Linked DNA regions of Homo sapiens: region 1 is linked to region 2. The links are contacts of gene promoters, found by promoter capture Hi-C in blood cells and fetal thymus (Javierre and others, 2016). All regions are on one chromosome and are shown on one strand. The core of a region is centred on a gene start or on the middle of the fragment in contact, and the rest is flanking DNA. Distances in the headings are between cores, read along the strand shown.

What was found. The method cuts DNA at HindIII sites, captures the fragments that hold promoters and counts their contacts. A CHiCAGO score of 5 or more calls a contact.
Region 1: a contact is called between the fragment with the promoter of REC8 here and a fragment that was not itself captured in region 2, in 12 of 17 cell types (naive CD8 T cells, total B cells, neutrophils and 9 more). The highest score is 13.3, in naive CD8 T cells.

Annotation. Positions count from the first base shown.
Region 1 is chr14:24,168,603-24,174,323 of GRCh38, reverse strand. It overlaps REC8 (REC8 meiotic recombination protein), which reads right to left and starts at 2,244. Exons shown (of 19, transcript NM_001048205.2): 1 at 1,716-2,244; 2 at 1,543-1,611; 3 at 1,283-1,425; 4 at 1,126-1,198; 5 at 913-1,033. The coding sequence starts at 1,771. RefSeq lists enhancers at 2,014-2,263, 2,332-2,832 and a silencer at 2,434-2,483. The HindIII fragment of the contact is 5,740 bases long and covers 824-5,721 here.
Region 2 is chr14:24,433,779-24,439,868 of GRCh38, reverse strand. It overlaps KHNYN (KH and NYN domain containing), which reads right to left. Exons shown (of 8, transcript NM_015299.3): 6 at 3,690-3,797; 7 at 3,380-3,481; 8 at 1-2,833. The coding sequence ends at 2,584. It overlaps SDR39U1 (short chain dehydrogenase/reductase family 39U member 1), which reads left to right. Exons shown (of 6, transcript NM_020195.3): 6 at 1-103. Among named protein-coding and RNA genes, the nearest start is that of SDR39U1, 6.0 kb to the left of the region's middle. The HindIII fragment of the contact is 2,715 bases long and covers 520-3,234 here.

The DNA.
Region 1 (5,721 bases), core at 995-3,494, 270 kb after region 2:
CCTGGGTGACAGAGACTCCATTTCAAAAAATAATAATAATAGGCCAGCGCGATGGCTCACGTCTGTAATCCTAGCACTTTGGAAAGCCAGGGTGGGTGGATCACCTGAGGTCTGGAGTTCGAGACCAGCCTGGCCGATAAGGCGAAACCCTAAAAAAATTGGGCCGGGCTCTGTGGCTCATGTCTGTAATCCCAGCACTTCAGGAGGAGGAGACAGGCAGATCATGAGGTCAGGGGTTCGAAACCAGCCTGGCCAGCATGGTGAAACCCTGTCTCAACTAAAAATACAAAATCAGTTGGGCATGGTGGCAAATGCCTGTAGTCCCAGCTACTCGGGAGGCTGAGGCAGGAGAATTGCTTGAACCGGGGAGGCAGAGGTTGCAGTAAGCTGAGATCGTGCCACTGCACTCCAGCCTGGGCCACAGAGCAAGATCCTGTCTCAAAAATAATAATAATAATAGTAATAAAATAAAAAAAGAAATAAATGGGGCATGGAGAGCCCCAAATGCTAGTAATCTGTTTGCAGCAGGAGCCACTGTTCAAATGGGGAACCAAGGAAGGGGGTGACATTAAGCTGTAGGAGTATTGGGAATAGATGGAGGAGGACAGGGGTAAGAAAGCCCAGTGCAGAGAGATGAGAGCCTGGATTAGGGCCTTGGCAGTGAAAACAGTGTGGAGACAAGTGGGGACAAGAGCTGCCTCCAGTGGGGAAACCGTCTGATCAGATTGGCCCTGAGTAGGTAAGTACAGGGGGCTTCGCCTGGATGGGTCCACCTTGGCAGTCCCCCTGCACCATCTCCTGTGGGAGAGAGCTGTGGTAAGCTTCCTTCCCCAACCCCAATGTCAGAGTGACACAGGGACAGCACTCCCCTTCTGCATTGCCAATTCACGAGTCTTGGGGAATGAGCCCTACCTGAGGGATATCGAAAGGACTAGGAAGTCTGGGATCCACAGACATCATCCCAAAAAAGGGATCTGGAGCATCTTCTAGGGTCTCCATCATGGCCAGGTGGTTAGGAAGCAGCAGGCTGGGTCTGGGAGAGAATGTAGGCCGTGAAGGACTGAGGCTGAGCCAGGCTGAGGCCAAGCTAGCAGGTGTTCCATCAAAGGCCCAGGGCACACTCACAGCTCAGTCTCCATATCTATTCGGATCTGCAGCTGGGCACGGTGGAGGCGCTCCAAGATGTGCTGGATGTCCTCTGTGGGCAGGGAGGACGAGGTAGACAGCCAGCTTAGCAGACAGCTGCTCAGCCCGCCCCACCTTTGAGGGTTCCCAGCCTTACCCACGAGGTACTGGCATTGTTGAGAATAGACGCGGATCACACCGATCTGAAGTTGGGCTGAGAGATAGAGGGAGAAGCGGGGCCGCGGCAGGCCGGGCTGCGGGGGTTGCACTCGTACCAGCACGTAATTGAGGATTTCCTCGCTGGGGAACAATGCGCCCTGATTACCGCTGCGTCCAGGAGTGGGCCCACAGTCTTGGCCACCCCATCCCCTAACTCACCCCCCGCACCAGGCCCTCCTTCCCTTTTCTGGGCCTTACCAGGTTTTCACCACATTCACCCTCAGGTATTCGCGCTTCACCAACCGGCTGCCGCGAGTCGCCGCCAGCCTGAAGTGGGTGGGGAAGGTGGGAGAATGGGGATGGAGGGGGAGCTGTCAGGCTGGGATCCCGGGCAGCGTCCGCCATCGCGCGCCAACGGGCCCCGCCCTTACCAGATGGTGGCAAAGCAGCCGGTGTGGCGCTGAAGCACGTTGGGATAGTAGAACATTGTCCCTCTGGTCTTTCACCCTCGATTCCACCAGATCCCCGTTCGGATCTGAGTCGGAATTCTTTAGGGCACAGAATTCCCAACACCTTGGAGAGAAGTCAGGATTTGGACTTCTCTGGTGGCAAGGTGGGTGCACCTAGAAAGCCAAGTTAATGAGGCAACGAACAATGGGCAGATACACAATTACCAGGATAACTGAGACGCAGGAGATGGGCGCCCCTCTCTGTGGACCCTCAGTGGATCCGCACGCCACGTGATGCGTCAAACTTGAGACTTCTGGGTTGGGTTCCAGGTTGGAGATGCAGAGCTCCAAGGGGACGTCCGGGCCGGAATCCAGAGCAGGTCCCGAGGGAGCACGGTGTCCTCCACAGCAGGCCTCGGTCCTCGAGCGCTGGGAGCGATGTCAGGCCCCTGGGCCTTGCACTGGCTTGGGCGGCCGCGGTGTGGCCCCGGGCCGCCTACTGCAGGACTAGATCGCACCGCGGGAAGCGAGCGCTTCGGGGCACCGCACCTCGCTCCTCATTAGATGGCGGCTTTTGCCCTGACAGCCAATGGGGAACGGGGGTCGGGTCGGGAACGCCAAGTATCCTGGCAACAGGGTCTCCCGAGGCAGCCAGCAAACCAATCATAAGGATTTTGCGCGCCGCTGGGGTCCATTGTGAGGTGTTCCGACCAATGGGCTCCGGTTCTCGCCTCTAGTAACAGGCGCCCCTTCCTTGACCAATGAGCGCATCCCCGTCGCTCCCCCGCCGCTCCCCCGCCGCAAGCCTGGCAACAAGGGCGCCTCAATTGGTAGGGGAGGTCGGGTCACCTCGGGGGCAACTGTACTGGGCCTCTTCCGGGTGCCAAGATGTACCTTGCACGGCGCCTGACCTGAGGTTAGACCCCGCCCTTCCCCCAATCCACAAACTCCGACTTTGTTTCCAACTAGGGCGTGTCGTGTGCTGCAGAGGAAGAAAGATGTGAGATGAGGCCGGGCGCAGTGGCTCACGCCTGTAATCCTAGCACTTTGGGAGGCCGAGGCGGGCGGATCATGAGGTTAGGAGTTCGAGTCCAGCCTGACCAATATGGTGAAACCCCGTCTCTATTAAAAATGCAAAAGTTAGCTGGGCGTGGTGGCACGCGCCTGTAATCCCAGCTACTCAGGAGGCTGAGGCAGGAGAATGCTTGAACCTGGGAGGCGGAGGTTGCAGTGAGCCGAGATCATGCAGCTCCACTCCAACCTGGGCAAGGGAGCAAGACTCCGTCTCAAAAAAAAAAAAAAAAAAAAAGGCTGTGAGATGATGGCCTTGGAGCCACCACAGGTCAATGAGGAAGAAGTCCATTTTTTTTTTTTTTGATGGCCTTGGAGCCACCACAGGTCAATGAGGAAGAAGTCCATTTTTTTTTTTTTTTTTTGAGATGGAGGCTCTCACTGTTGCCCAGGCTGGAATGCAGTGGCGCTATCTCGGCAATCTCGGCTCACTGCATCCTCTGCCCCCCATCCCCTCAGGTTCAAGCGATTCTCGTGTCTTGGCCTCCTGAGTAGCTGGGATTACAGGCGCCCTCCATCACACCCAACTAATTTTTGCATTTTTAGAAGAGACGGGATTTCACTATGTTGGCCAGGCTGGTTTCTTTTTTTTTTGAGATGGAGTTTCACTCTGTCACCCAGGCTGGAGTGCAGTGGCGCAGTCTCAGCTCATTGCAGCCTCCGCCTCCCCGGTGCAGGGGATTCTCCTGCCTCAGGCTCCCGAGTAGCTGGGATTACAGGCGCCCACCACCACACCTGGCTAAATTTTGTATTTTTTAGTAGAGACAGGGGTTTCACCATGTTGGCCAGGCTGGTCTCGAACTCCTGACCTCAGGTGATCCGCCCGCCTTGGCCTCCCAAAGTGCTGGGATTACAGGCGTGAGCCACTGCCCCCAGCTGAAGAAGTCAATCTTACACGAAACTCCGAAAGGACTTACTGGGGTCACTTCCTAAATCTGAACAACTTAGGTTATGGGCACGCCACGTGTGGTCCTTTCCCAGCTGTCAGTGTTCTCCCGGCTGAAATAGACTTTAGCATTTTTGGATGCAGCACAACTTCCTAGCCTGGAAAAGCCATATTCTCAACAATTATTGTGTAAATTTAAGAGGTACAGTTGTAATAATAACCCTTGTCCCTATGCCTCCTACCTTTGCACAGCCATTTCTTTGGCCTAGAATGTCCTTCTCTGCCTTGACTCCAGAGCATGCTTCTTCCTGAGACTTATATCTTACTGCAGCTGAGCTGACCCTATCTTCTTACAGTCCCCTTCAATTTGAGAGTTTTTTTTTTTTTTTTTTTTTTTTTTTTCTGAGATGGAATTTTGCTTGTCGCCCAGGCTGGAGTGCAATGGACCATCTTGGCTCAGTGCAACCTCCGCCTCCTGGGTTCAAGCAATTCTCCTACCTAAGCCTCCTGAGTAGCTGGGACTACAGGCATGTGCCACTATGCCTGGCTAATTTTTTTGTATTTTTAGTAGAGACAGGGTTTCAACCATGTTGGCCAGGCTGGTCTCAAACTCCTGACCTCAGGTGACACCCGCCTCGGCCTCTCAAATTACATGCCTATAGTCACAGCTACTCAGAAGGCTGAGACAGGAGGATCGATTGAGCCGAAGGTCGAGGCTGCAGTGAGCCATGATTGCACTGCTGTGCTCCAGCATGGGCGATTCTGTCAAAAAAAAAAAAAAAAAGAAAGAAAGAAAAAAAGAAATACATGAAGTGGCCGTAAGTGCTATGAAGAAAATGAGGCAGCATAGGAGGATAGAATAATGACGGCTGCTATTTAGGGAGGGTACTCAGGGAAGCCTTGCCCCCTCTCTTAAGAGATAAAATTTGAAGAATGTGGGTAAGTCATGTGCCTACCTGAAGGAAGAGTAATTTAGACAAAAGAACCAGCAAATGCAAAGACCCTGAGGTAGAAATGTGTTTGGTGGGTTCAAGGAGCCTGGAGCAAAGTGACAGGGGAAGAATGGCAAGGGGCGAGAGAGAGAGAGAGAGGAGGGTAGGGTCGCATCACAGGACCTCAGAGGTCCTTATGGGGATTTGGGCTTTTACCCTGGGTGATTTGGGACCCACTGGAAGGTTCTGAGCAGAGGAGTGACATGATCAGAATTACATGTGAAAAGAATCTCTACTGTGTTGAGAATAGCTTAAGGTAGACACGTGTGGAAACAGATGTGAAGGAAGCAGAGGAGGAGACATGAGAGATGGTGGTAGTTTGTTCCAAAGTGTTGCTGATGGGAACAGAGAGAAGTGGTCAGACCCTGGATACATATTGAAGGAATAGCGAGCGACAGGATTTGCTGATGAATTGGATGTGGGGTATGATAGAAAACGGAAGGAGGCCAGGTATAGTAGCTCACACCTGTAATCCCAGCACTTTAGGAGGTCAAGTAGTTGGGACTATAGGCACACACCACCACACCTGGCTTTTTTTTTTCCCCCACTTTTTTTTTTTGAGATGGAGTTTCGCTCTTGATGCCCAGGCTTGGAATGCAATGGCACGATCTTGGCTCACTGCAACCTCTGCCTCCTGGGTTCAAGTGATTCTCCTGCCTCAGCCTCCCAAGTAGCTGGGATTATAGGCATGTGCCACCATGCCCAGCTGATTTTTTTTATATTTTTAGTAGAGATGGGGTTTCACCATGTTGGTCAGGCTGGTCTCGAACTTCTGACCTCAAGTGATCCACCCACCTGGGCCTTCCAAAGTGCAAGGATTACAGGTGTGAGCCACCATGCCTGGCCTCACCTGGCTAATTTTTAAGAATTTTTGGGAGCCAGGTGCAGTGGCTCACGCCTGTAATCCCAGCACTTTGGGAAGCTGAGGTGGGCAGATCACCTGAAGTCAGGAGTTCGAGACCAGCCTAGCCAACATGGTGAAACCCTGTCTCTACTAAAAATACAAAAATTAGCCTGGCATAGCGGTGCGCACCTGTAA
Region 2 (6,090 bases), core at 628-3,127:
CCAGTTTGGTTTCTCTACATGTCCTGCAGCTGCCCCACTTCTCCTTTACGCTGTGTAGAGAATGCTCTGCAGTTTAGGCAATAAAAATAAATTGTCTCACTAACCTTGGCTCATCTCTTTGGCCTAGATTCTCCTGGGATTTACTTCAAGGAATGTCACCCTAGATGATTCTTCCCCAAAGACGGGGTTTTGAAAGTTACAATGAGCAGTCTCTCTCATCACCGTTTCCCTTCTTGGTCCTTCAGTTGCCAAAAGAACTTGTCACAAGTTTGGGACATCAGGTTATGATAAAGATAGACACTAGAAGAGAGAATGATGATCCATTTCCAATGGGCCCTGTAGTCACCCTGGATGCTGTCAGAGTGCCATTAGGATGCCAGTAGAGGAAGAGGTAAGGCCCAGGTGTAGGATAGCCTTCAGTCTGTGTCACCAAATGGCAAGTGCATTACTAACCACACAGTGGTCCCAGTTTATCAGGCTGCAGCAGAACAAAGTCAACATCCCTGTCTATAAGAAGCTTAGGACTTGCCTCTCATCTGACTGGGGCCACTCAGTCAACCAGGGCCCTTAGCACAAAAGGGCAGAAGACACTTTTGGTCTACTGCACACCCACCATCACTGAAAGTGAAAATGGCAAGAAACCAATCAAGAAGTATAAACAACCCTATCAGGAAAAAAAAAAACTCCAAGGTTTTCATCTAGGACCCTTTTTACCTACCTAAAGCTGTGACATCTGCCATAACTTGACCAGACACAGTTCCCCCAGCCACCAGTTCAGGCCATACTAACCAATCTCTTCTCAGGGACCGCTGGGTTATCTCTTAATCATTGTCACCTCTTTGACCAGCCTGTCTCCAACACACCTGCCCCCAGCCTGGGTCAGTATGGTACAGTGGTGTAAATCACCAAAAAGGAAGGGGTGAGGACACAAGGACCCTCCCCATCATCATTACACTCGCCATGCAGTATTCAACTCCCTGTGCCACTCAGAGGGAGGCAGAAGTCAGGGCCTGGAAAAGATCTTGTCTAGAGACTCCCCACAGGCCCACACAGAACAGAACCCAGGGGCACCTGTCCTACTTCTTTATCTGGTCTTGGATTCCAGGAAGTTGACTGGCTCTGTATTGTTCCTGGAGGTATGACCAGCCTCAAAGGTGGATGTAACAGAAAAGCATACTTTAGGCTGCACTAAAGTAAGGAGTACTGATTAATACCGTCTACACAGGGAATGTGCTACCCTGGAGATAGTAAATTCCCTGGCACAGGAGGACTTCAAGCAGATCCAGGGCAATGACCTCTAGGAATCAGGGTGAAGAAAGCATGTCAGTAACAGCAGAGTTGGTCTGGTGGCCAGTCAAGTGCCTTCCAACTCTGGTTCTTTCATTTTCCAGATAATTGGTTCATCTAGAACCAACTGGTTCAACTTCCGTTAAGTCCTCCCATCCCCATACACACACACATAAAGCAGAAGTGTGCCTTGCTTTATGCAACATACGTCTTCCATAGAGAAAATGTTAGGGTCGGATCACATTAATATTGTCATTGCAGAGCATGGCTTCATCGATTGGTGAAAAATCGACGTGTTCATCTCAACACCAGGAAGTGCATCTAACCAGGGATTTGCCAACACATTTGTTAGTCTGTAAACAACACCTGAATACAACAGGAGAGCTGCCATTTATAGGAACCCTGAGAGTATTTTGATAATGCAGTCATCCCTAATTTACCTACTGTGTAAATGTAGATTTTGGAGGTTGCTCAAAAGGGATGCAGCCATTATAGGGCACGTTATAGTGAGAATGCAGTGTTAAAATCTAGGGTGTGGATCCTGGAGACAAAGGACCCACATCTCTCTGAAAGTGAGGTTTCGGTTAGAGAGCCTGTGCAGCCACAGGCAGACACACCTGAGACTTGGTCCAAGCACCTTTCCTCCAAGAGGCTTTCCTCTATGTTCTCATTTCTCCTCCCAACAGGTATTTTTACCCCTGATTTGTAGGCAGAAGTAAAGCCCAAGCAACTCAATCAAGGTCACAAAACAGGCATAGCTGAGACCAGAAGCCAAGTCTCCCTCTGCCTTCTTCACTAGCTCACTCCACCCTATCGTGGCCCAGTCCACATAACACTGTGCCAGGGCCTAGCATCTCCTTCCACGCTCCCAGGAGCTCAGCAAGGGAGCATCTTGTTCTCTGGCCATCCAGAGCAGCAGCCAGGGAGAGGAACAGCTTAACTTCCTGTCACTTCCTGCCCACCCTGCCCTCCACCCTAGCTCAGCTTGGAGGTGGAGCCAACAGTCTCAGTCTCCGGAACTAATCCCCTCTAGCAGCCCCCACTCCCTACAGAAACCCTGTGCTAAGGCAAAGTTGAGAAGTTAAGGCTGAGCAGAACCTCTTGAGAGCTGGCTGAGGTCCTGACTCGGTAAGATCAGTTCACTTTATGGACCTGTCCCAAAGTGGCTTCCCTGATCCAAAGCACCAACTCAGGGTGCCTCTGGATCAGAGTGAGCAGCAGAGGGACTCTCACAGAAAGGGCTGAGCTGGAGGCGGCTGGAGCTGACAGGGCGGCAGCCACTCAAGCAGGTGAGGCTCAAAAGTTAAGACTGAGCAGGGCCTCAGACAGTTGGTTGATGTCCCGGCAGTATGGCTCCCGCTGCAGGATGAAGTCCACTTTGTGATCCTGACCCCAAAACACCTCCAGCAGCTGCCGCCGGAGCCGCTCTGTTTCCCGGGTCTTCCGAATGCCACCACTACCTTTTTCCTCTTCTCTCCCCTGCTGCTGTTTACCATGTTCTGCAAAGCCCCTGGAAGGATGCTGAGCCTTAGAAGACCCCTGTGTCCTGGGAAGAAACAGACCAAAAAGAGCTGATGAGCATCCTGGGGGGGAAATTAGATCTTAGTGGGCACCCCTCTCGTAATTGTCCTGCCTATTCCTGGCTTTGGGGGAGAAATCCTGAAGTTCCTGAAGCTGACCACTGAGTGGCAGTATCAACCCACTTCTGAAGGGAAGATGGGCCGTTCTTTTAGAAACAGGGTGAACTCTGCCACTATTATGATCTAGTTCTAGTCCTAAATGAATCACTTATGTAATGGTCAGCAGAAGGCATGCTGAATACAACTGGCTGTCAGTATAAGCAACCATTTTCCAAATAACTCCATCAAACATGCTGATTAAGAGAAACAGGAAGCAGGTGTTTCCCTCCCAGCAAGGAGGTTCTATGTCAGGATCCCCTGGGAAGCTTATAAAGGCCAAGGCCAATGCAACTCAAACCACTGCAAAATTAAGCTGGCCCAAACTGAGGTCACACTTCCACCCAAGTCTCTGGGCCTGCTGAGAGAGGGCCAGGGGTGGGGGCTGCCTGTAAGTAGTCTAGGGGATTGATTACCTGGCTGGCTTCTTCAGAAATTCATCCAGGGTGGGGCCGTTTCGCCCCAGTGGGTCATCAGGTACCATGAAGAGGTTTCCCACAAAGGTAAAGGGCAGCAGGCTGGATGGCGAAAGATAATGTGTGGTCACAGAGGGGGCCCTTGCCCACCTCCCAGACAACCGAGACCAGTATCACCAGAAGCTGCTGGCTCCATCCTTCAAGAAAACTTCACCTCCTTCCCAGAGTTTTCACCCCATGGCCAGAGCAGAGCTGGCTTTAGAAAAACATCTGCATCTGTGCCCAGTTCTCAGCGGGAGGGCTCCCTCACCGTTCTCTGATGATTGCCATCCACTTCTCAGACTCCTCCGCCAGGTCCCGGAACTGGTCATTGGAGACAATTATCCCATCTGTCTCTTCAGCCAGCTTCACCATGAACCTGTCTCCAAAACCACAGCAACCGAGAGAGGGTTGAAAAATTACCTACTGGGTACAATGTTCACTGTTTGGATCATGGTTACATTAAAAGCCTAGACTTCACCACTATGCAATATATCTATGTAGCAAAACTGTATTGGTATCCCCCAAATCTACAAAAATAAAAGTAAAAACCACAGCAACCATTTGGGACTCTCCAAGGCCCCAACCCCAGAAGTTTTACTGTCTCCCATAGGCCACTTCTGGTGATGGAGATCTGGCCCCCTACCTCACCTTGACCCAGCTACAGGCAACTGACTAGATGCAAGTGCCATGGCCTAGAGAGGAAACAAAGATGAATCCAAGGTGGTCTCCCAGTAGCATCCTATCTGCCAACCATAGTCCTTCACCCAACACTTTGTGCCTCGTTAGTAAACAGTAAGATCTAGCTCTGTCTTCCACCCTGCCCAACCAATCCCTTGCAAATCCAACATGCCTTTCCTTTGAAAAGCCTTGTGCTCTGCTCCCTTCCTTCCCAGGCCCACCATTACCACCCCAGTAATTCAGATATTGCAACTGAGATTATGCATAACCTCCTAACAAGGGGGTCCCCGCCTCTGACCACTCACCCACCCTCCAGTCTCCCCTGCCCTGCCCCAAGAAAGCATGCTTATCACCTACACAAAACTCTTCCACACTTGCCCTTTATTTACCAAATAAAGTCCACACACCCAGGCCTGGCAGCTAAGGCCTTCTACAGGCCAGCTCAAATCACCCTTACAGCCTTATCTCTCCCAATATTCCCTAACCCACTCTCAACTCCAGCTAAAATCAATAATCAGATTACACTCTGCTCTCCACATATGTCTTATGCTGACTTCCATATTTCTCCAACTATTTCCTCTATCTGGAAGGCACTTCCCAAGACTTGCTAAGGAACAGAATTACCAAGGGAACTTTTTTAAAAAATGCCTGGGCTCCATTCAGTAATTCTGATTCCACAAGACAGGGTAGGACTCATGAAGTGATGGGTGGTGGTCTTTTTAACAGATTTAGAAACAGAGATCCAACCCATCCCAGTCTTCTCAACACAAAAACTCACAAATCTCTCCTTTCCCACAAAACCCCAGCCAGAATGGGGCTCCTTTCCCTCTGAGTTCCTGTAGTGTTTGATTTATGGTTTCTTTCGGCTCTCTAGTCAAGAATCAGATCTTGTTCCCAGTGTTCCCACCTCCTCCTGCAGGCCATGCACCTAGTACTAAGTGAGCAGTCAGTATTTGAAAGATAGTGTGGTATAGGGGGAACTGGGAGTCAGGATTAGGTGTGACAGATATCAGGCTCTGAGCTTCTGTCTGGGAAACAAATTAAGGGAATGACATACAAATGTCTATGGCCGGGCTTGGTGGCTCACGCCTGTAATCCCAGCACTTTGGGAGGCTGAGGTGGGCGGATCATGAGGTCAGGAAATCAAGACCACCCTGGCCAACATGGTGAAACCCCATCTCTACTAAAATGCAAAAAGTTAGCTGGGCACGGTGGCATGCACCTGAAGTCCCAGCTACTCGGGAGGCTGAGGTAAGGGAATCACTTGAACCTGGGAGGCAGAGGTTGCAGTGAGCCGAGATCGTGCCACTGCACTCCAGCGTGGCGACAGAGCAAGGCTCCGTCTCAAAAACAAACCAAAAAAAAATTATATGGTACACTTATGGTATGCAAATGGTATTTTCCAGTTAAGCATATTTTACTATGATCGCATTACACAGTATGTTGTTCAGCAACATTCATTCCGTATGCCTACGCTGTGTACCACTGTGCTTATTCACTGTTACTGGGCGAATTCCCAATTTATATTATGTTATCTGCCAACCAGGTCCCACACAACTGGGCAGACACATGCCTTTAACATTCATTAAAACGAACTCAATCTTCAGTTTCAATTCTGTTTCAATGCAGGTGTGGAAAGAAGATTCCATATCTTGGGTAATCTGTGACATCTAGATATAAATAGAATAACATTGGGAGAACGTAAACTGCTTTTTTGTAGAATACCATTTGCTTGTTAAGGAATAGAAGGTAAGTGTTTGAAAAGACAAAGTATATAATCACTATGGTTTGGAAAAACTAATTTTTAAAAACTGTATAATGTCCTAGAGAATAAAGAACTTGTAAATTTTTTAACTTGGCTTTCTAAAATCTGCTCATTTCTCACACCACCTAGGCAGACTATGGTAGAAGTGTGCCTTGTATTTTCATTCAAACCATCTGGCAGCTTTGAGGTCTAATTCCCCTTTGCTAAGACAGGTAACCACTCTGAC